Regions from separate parts of the Homo sapiens genome. Here region 2 is linked to region 1. The links are contacts of gene promoters, found by promoter capture Hi-C in blood cells and fetal thymus (Javierre and others, 2016). All regions are on one chromosome and are shown on one strand. Each heading gives the region's core, a stretch centred on a gene start or on the middle of the fragment in contact. The rest is flanking DNA. Distances are from core to core; before and after follow the strand shown.

The links. The method cuts DNA at HindIII sites, captures the fragments that hold promoters and counts their contacts. A CHiCAGO score of 5 or more calls a contact.
Region 2: a contact is called between a fragment that was not itself captured here and the fragment with the promoter of ZNF786 in region 1, in 1 of 17 cell types (neutrophils). The highest score is 5.6, in neutrophils.

Annotation. Positions count from the first base shown.
Region 1 is chr7:149,088,549-149,092,212 of GRCh38, forward strand. It overlaps ZNF786 (zinc finger protein 786), which reads right to left and starts at 2,170. Exons shown (of 4, transcript NM_152411.4): 1 at 2,075-2,170. The coding sequence starts at 2,092. RefSeq lists silencers at 2,112-2,411, 2,532-3,021. The HindIII fragment of the contact is 38,912 bases long and covers 1-3,664 here.
Region 2 is chr7:149,630,603-149,634,559 of GRCh38, forward strand. No RefSeq gene overlaps it. Among named protein-coding and RNA genes, the nearest start is that of TRC-GCA9-3, 3.1 kb to the right of the region's middle. The HindIII fragment of the contact is 2,807 bases long and covers 511-3,317 here.

The DNA.
Region 1 (3,664 bases), core at 920-3,419:
TACTCATTCTCTCCTCTTCTCTGATTAAAATTCCTTACTTTTAAAACTTTTTTAATTTTTAGAAGTTTAAAAATCCAGAGAGTTACAGAGAAAACTATAAGCATCCTAGTATTCACCACTGACTTAACAAGTTTAACATTTTTCTTCAGAGTTCCTTTTAATGAAATAGAATGTGACCGGTGAAACTCAAGTTCTTGTGGTTCCTCTCTTCAATCATGTTCTGATATTGTCACATTCTCCTTCCTTTGTAAAGGCAAACATTATAAATAATATGGGAACTTTCCAGTTCATTTTAATACATATATGTATCTGTAAATATTCAGTATTACTTTGTGTCTTTTATACGTAAATACTTTATTATACTTGTATTCTTCCCTCAACATTTTGGGATCTGGCCCTGTTGAGTTTCTTTTTTTTTTTTTTTTGGAGACAGAGTCTTGCTCTGTCGCCCAGGCTGGAGTGCAGTGGCGCGATCTCGGCTCGCTGCAAGCTCCGCCTCCCGGGTTCTCCCGCCTCAGCCTCCCGAGCAGCTGGGACTACAGGCTCCCGCCCACACGCCCAGCTAATTTTTGTTTTTGTATTTTTAGTAGAGACGGGGTTTCACCGTGTTAGCTAGGATGGTCTCGATCTCCTGATCTCGTGATCCGCCCGCCTTGGCCTCCCAAAGTGCTGGGATTAGAGGCGTGAGCCACCACGCCCGGCCCTGTTGATCATATATGTAGCTAATTTATTTTAATTTTGTATAGTGTTCCACCGTCTGAATGTCACAAGTTTGTTTGTTTTTGAGATAGAGTCTCGCTCTGTCGCCCAGGCTGGAGTGCAGTGGCGCCATCTCAGTTCGCTGCAACCTCCACCTCCCGAGTTCAAGCAATTCTCCCTACCTCAGCCTCCCGAGGAGCTGGGATTACAGGCGTCCGCCACCACACTCAGCTAATTTTCGTATTTTTTAGTAGAGACAGTTTTTCGCCATGTTGGCCAGGCTGGTCTTGAACTCCTGACGTCAAGTGATCTGCCCACCTCGGCCTCTCAAAGTGCTGGGATTACAGGCGTAAACCACGGCGCCTGGCCTGAATGTCACAAGTTTTAAAATCCATTCTTTTACTCATTAATAATTTATTTTCAGGTCTGTGATTTGGCTGTTTATATCCTTTCCCCATATATATAGGTATGTATATATTTTTGGAGACGGAGTTTCGCTCTTGTTGCCCAGGCTGGAGTGCAATGGTGCAGTCTCGGCTCACTGCAACCTCCGTCTCCCGGGTTCAAACAATTCTCCTGCCTGAGCCTCCCGAGTAGCTGGGATTACAGGCGCCCGCCATCATGCCAGGCTAATTTTTTGTATTTTTAGTAGAGTTGGGGTTTCACCATGTTGGCCAGGCTGGTCTCGAACTCCCGACCTCACGTGATCCACCCGCCTCGGCCTCCCAAAGTGCTGGGATTACAGGCGTGAGCCACCGCGCCCGGCCTAATTCATTTAATAATCAGCAAAAATCCTCAACATTAAAGTTTACAAGATAAAAATACCCTCTAAACCTCGATTTTAAGAAACCACTAACTTAATTTTTTGTATCCTCTTCTACTCTTCCCAACGTATCATCTTACACTCAACCCAAATCACGCTAGACAATAAATTCTGACATTGAAGCCCCCGCCAAACACCATTTCAACCATTCGGAATCTTAAACTTTTTGGAACAGTTGTTCTGATTTCGGTGACTATGATGTAAAACTGGTTGACCTGTAACATCCACCTCTGGCCCCAAACCTTTCTATCCTTTCCACCGTCCGCTCCCCGTCCGCCCGGCATCCTCGCCCAGGCTCCGCCCCGCTCCTAGGTCGGCCTCGGTCCACGCTCGGCTTTGTCCAGGGGTTTGGCCACGGACAAGCCGCGGGAGCGGAGGCCACCTGCTCACCGCAGGGCCCGGAATCCACATCCCCAGCAGAAGCAGCCTGCAGACTCCGTCCTACCCGTGCACCGCGCGCACTCACGGGGACCCCAGGACACGGGCGAGCCCGGAACCCGAGGACCCACCACGACCCCGAAACCGGGCGTCCAAACAGGCTAGCCCGCTTACCCGAGGCGGCTCCGCCATGGTCCCCGCGGTCCCGCCCGGCCCTGGCAAACCCGACCGTCTCCGGCGGCTCCGCAGGAACCTGCCCTGCTGCGCACTGACTCCCCTCCGCTCCGCCCCAACCCGACTCCCACGCACAGCCCGGGTGGCCCCCAAACGCAGCGCCGGCCGGGCGCGGTGCATGCTGGGACCCGGCGCCCGGCCGCGGCTGCCGCTCAGTCCTACAGCGCCTCCTGCGGGAGGAAGAAGCGGCGCTGCCTGAGCGTCGGTCCTCAGAGGAGGGACCCAGGGGCCCGGGCGCCCTCAGAGCAGGCCGCAGCACGCCGGTCTTTGAGGGACCCTCGGATTCCCGGGATCTGGGGAGGGAAGCGGTCAGAGACAAGCTGAGGAGCTGGCCGGAGGGGAAACGGAGGGGCAGGACATGGAGAGATCAGGGACAGGGACAGGGAGAGATCAGGGACAGGGACAGGGAGACGCGCTCCACAGAAACCCAGACTGAGAGGCAGCGAGAGGGGAACCTCCGGTGCGGTTCCTCCCAAAGCCGCCCCCGAGACAGGCTTCGTCTGTGAGGGGGTCCCGGGAATCCAGCGAGGCCGGAAAGTGGGTGGGGGGCGCGCGCTGCCCGCGGTGGCCCGGGGCATCCGTCCCGCCGGGGGCGCGGAGGCCGTGGGGGCCCCATGCTTGTCCCGCCGGGGACGCGGAGGCGGGGTCCGCCCACCAGGTCCGGTCGCCGTGGGTCTAGAGCCCTCCGGGCTCCCCGGGCGGCCACGCTCCTTCCTTAGCAGAGAACGGCCTTGGGCAGAGACCCCATGCGGAAGCCACCCCGGCCTCAGGGCCGCCTGCAGGGACTCAGGGTGGCCCAAGGCTGCGGTCGGGCACCCCGGGCCCCGGCAGGAGACAGAGACAGAGTAGGAGGAGAAGACGGAGGAGGCCATGACACAGGGCGTGAGAAACACGAGAACGCAAGAACAGGGGAGAGGTGGGGAAACCAGGAAGAGACAGAAAGGAGAGAGGGCGAGGAAGGGGGTGGCGATTGTCTCCAGAAAATCAACCTCGCATTCTGTCTTAGTCATGTCTTAGGTGTCAGGCTGAAGTAGCAAAGGAAAAGTGTGTAGTTTGGAGAGGATGTGCATAAGAAATAAAATAGTCCCTGCGTAGGCTGAGGAGCATATACGCATCTGTGTTTGCCACAGAATCGTGAAATGTACATGCACCTTACTGTTTAACGTTTTTTATTTTTACAACTGTTATACAGTACAATTTTTTTTTTTTGGAGACAAAGTCTCACTCTTGTCACCCAGGCTGGAGTGCTGTGGCGCAATCTCGGCTCACTGCAACCTCTGTCTCCTGGATTCAAGCAATTCTCCTGCCTCAGCCTCCCGAGTAGCTGGGATTACAGGCATTTGCCACCACGCCCGGCTAATTTTTGTATTTTTAGTAGAGACGAGGTTTCACCATGTTGGTCAGGCTGGCCTCAAACTCCTGACCTTGTGATCTACCTGCCTCGGCCTCCCCAAGTGTTGGGATTACAGGCGTGAGCCACCGCGCCTGGCTTTTTTTTTTTTTTTTTTTTTTTTTTTTTTGAGACAGAGT
Region 2 (3,957 bases), core at 664-3,163, 540 kb after region 1:
GTATTTTCCTCACCTCCTCCTGCTTTCATTCTCGGGAATGTCAAACTCCAAGGTAATGTGCTTCCAATGCTAAGGCCTCCCAAGATTTCCATCTTCCTGGCTCTAGGAATGTTCACAAACTCCGTTCACTGCGGCCTTCAAGGTGTGTGGTGAGGCAGAGATTCAGAGTTTTCCACCAGTGTCTTCTACCCTGCCTTTTGGTTATCAGCTGAGCACATGGCTTCCCAGAAGAAAAACTGCATTTCCCAGACCCCCTTGGAGCTGTGAGGCCATAGGCATAAGGCTGGTCAATGAGATGCAGGTGAAAGTGATGGGTGTTCTTATATGGAGAGGCTTGTCTTTCCTCCTTCCTACTGGCTGGGAGGTCGATGAGATGCTAATGTGGGTGATGGCATGCTGGAATGAAAGCCAAGCCAGCCAGACAGCCACAAAGAAGAAATCGGGTTCTTGACCCTATGGAAAGCCATGCCTGGACCACCTAGCTGTGGACTTTTATGTGGGAGAAAAGGAAGCTTCTGGTTTGTTTGCTTGTTTTTGTTTTGCTTCCATCCTTTGTTATTTTGGGTGTTCAGCATTCATAGCCAAACCTGATCATCACTTAAACTATTCCCTTTCAAGATCTTAGAATCAGAAAAGTCCTTTTATGACACGTTTTCTGATGTTTACATGTTCTTACTGTTACCAAAAATGTTTCATTATCCTCATTTTGACCTTAATCTTGTCTACCTCTCTCTGTTCCCATGACCGCAGGGCCACCTTGGGGCTCAGCTATCTGCCTGCCCATTATTGATCCCATGTTTGGCCTCTCAGTCATGATTCCAGCTCCTTTGAGAGCTTGGTCTGTGGTCTATCTACCTCTCTCATGAGCCCTTCTGCTTCCGCGGATACACACGCCTTTGGCCTTTCCCACCTTTGCTCTGGGGAAGCCAGTCTTTGATGGAGTAAATTGTAGAGCCAGGCAAATGGTCCCACTGCAAATCTACACCAGTTTGACCTCAACCAGTGCCTCTCTCTAATGAGCAATGATTCTATTCCTTTCTAATTCACTTCTTCTCCATTTCCCACAGTGCCTGATTCACACTTTGCCCTTCTTCCCAAGTAATGATTCCCACCCTACCTCCTTTATTCTCTTTGGAAGACTTTGTTTTCTATCTGACTGAGAAGACCAAGGCCATGGAGGCCCCCCAGCATCCTCTGCTCTGCATCTTCACCTTCTCCTCATCCCCTCCAGGCTAAGAGGAAAAGCCTGCCTGCTCCTCTCTAGAGCACATCCTGTGTTCTTTATCCACCCTTTGGCTTTCCCTGGGATCTCCTTCCATTAATATATCCTCTCTTTTTTATTGACACATTTGAGCATATTCATATATGTACTGGCCATTCATGATATACAGGGAACCCTACAGGCACATCTTTGCAGCAATTATGGTGAACTGTGTGTGCTTTGATAGACATACAGGAGCCATGGAGCATGTGGCAGGGGTCCCACCCATCAGGAGGGTCAGGAGGGCTTCCCAGGAGAACACCCACCCAAGTGCTCCACTTCACTGAGACTGTGCTTGTCACAGTCCTTGGTGACCATGTGTCATGGGTGATTCTCATCTTTAATTCAAGCCCTCAGTAGCATTTTTTTTTCAATCGACATTGGGGCTGTCACTCTTTTTCTGTTGTTTTCTTTGTACTTCTCTGCCACTTTTCCTCAATCTCTTTTGCTGGTTTCTCCTTAACATCCCCATTTTTAAACATTCGAGGGCCCAGGTCTTAGTTCCTAGACCACTTTTCTTTTCACTCCCACTTCCTCAGTGCTCTCATTCCATCCTGCGGCTTTAATGGGATGATGACCCTCAAATTTATATCTTTAGCCAACACCTCCCCTTCGAACTCCAGCTTCATTTTTGACATCTCCATTAGACCATTTAACAGATGGATTCAATTTAATACATCACAGATTGAACTCCTGACTTCCACCACCCCCTCAAATTTCATTTCTGCTGCAATGAAAATGGCCATCTCAGAGAATGGCCCCCCCATCCCGCCGGGTGCTCAGGACAGAAAACCTTGGCATTATCCTTGACTTTTCCCTTTCTCTCACACCCTGCTCTCAAATCATCAGCAAATCCTGTTCACACTGCTTCAAAATATATCCAAAATCTGACCACTTCTCATTGCCTCCACCATCAGACAAAGCTGAAATCATCTCTCATCCAGGTTATGGTGACAACTTCCTGAACTTGTGTCCCGGCTTCCATACATGTCCTCTAGTGCCCTCAGGCCAGCCAGAGGACGAAATCAGCTTATGTTATTCCTCTGCAAGAAATCCTCCAATCACTCCCATCTAATCCAGAGTGGAAGCCCATGTCCGTACACAACCTATCCCAATGGTGACTGAAACAGACATGGGCTCTTGAAACTAGAGGAATAGATCAAGATGTACAAATGTTCACAGAAGTTAAAAATGGAAAATATGAGAAATACTAGATGGTAAGATGCAGGGATATTATAAGACTATTACTGGGATATCAAAGCGATTGCAGGAGGTAAGGACACTTTCCTTGAGGAAGTGATGTTTCATTCATGGCGTACTGGTAAGGTGAAATATTTGTGGTAGTTATTATGCATAAGTAGTGTGTATACCATTGGGGCTGATGTGAAAAATTCTCTCTCTTGGGTAGTGTGGCCATCCTGCTGGCTTTTTCCAGGGCACCTACTGTCCATTTTAGCCATAGAAGCTGGTGCTGGAGTTCACCTCCTTTGCCCAGCTAAGGCTTCTGCACAGTGAGATGAGGCAGGTAGTGACTCCCGCCCCAGGAAACTCTCACTGATCCCTGTGGTCTCCTTGGGCTGCCTCTGTCTGTGCCTTGTGTGTGTTTCACTCTCCCAGCCCCTTTTAGGACCCCCTGAGAGTCCACATTGGGACACCTGGAGCCAGTCTTCACCACATCATGCCCACCAGAGGAGACAAGTTCTCTTTTATGAAGATGGAATTTGCCATCACAAAAGAGGCTTGCCCATCTGCTCTCTTCTTCCTTGCTGAGGGCAATATTGCATAGTTTCCGGAAGGTGGGGCAGGGAAATTTGAGAGGAAAATTTGCCCAACTGACTTCTTTTCATCTATACTTTTACTTCCTTGGGCTCTTAGGTCTCTTACTACCTCTGGTTTTGTGAAGAGCCACCCCCTGGCAAGGTCAGTCATGCCTGGAGTTCCCATGCCATGTAAAATTGTCTGTATGCTGGTACAAGGACTCCAACTATTGCTAACCTTCTAGTCTCCTTACAGTTAGCACATTGGTCTGAGTAATTTATGTAATTTCCCTATTGGAAGCTTAGGGCAGTTTCCGAGGGGAATTCTAATGTAGGAGGAAGAGGGGACTCTGGGGTAGGGTGGCCACAGTGTGCAGTTGATTCCTTGTTGATGTTCGCTCCAGCATGAGCTGCACACCAGCTGGCTACTTCCACAGGCACACTCAATGCAGGAAGCCATCTCCTAAGGACAGTCACTGACTCTTTTTAGGGCCACCACAGTGAGATCCAGACTGAGAAGACAGGAGCTCGCCTGGTACTTGGGGTCGTAGGACCATTTCAGGCAGAGAGGGCTTCAGATTCCTCCTTCTTCATGCAGGGGCCATTGGATTCGTACAAGAGCTGCATTAGTTGCTCTCTTTCTTGCTCTTCAGGAGGGCTTCCTAGCAACTGCCCTGCTGCCCCCACCCCAACTCAGCCATCTCTCTCATACAGGGAAGACGACTTGTCTATTTCTCTTGCTGTATATGTGGTTTTATCACTGAGCAGGGGACTTGTCCCTTCCTTGATCGTCTTCCTCGAGGTATGACTAGAAAGACCTTTCTCTGCCTTTAATAATGCTGACACCATCATTTTGACCTGATTGTAAGCCCCAGCTGACTCGGGAGGGCAGCATTGGCATTTTTATTTTTACTGATTCCTGCACAGTTTATACACCTC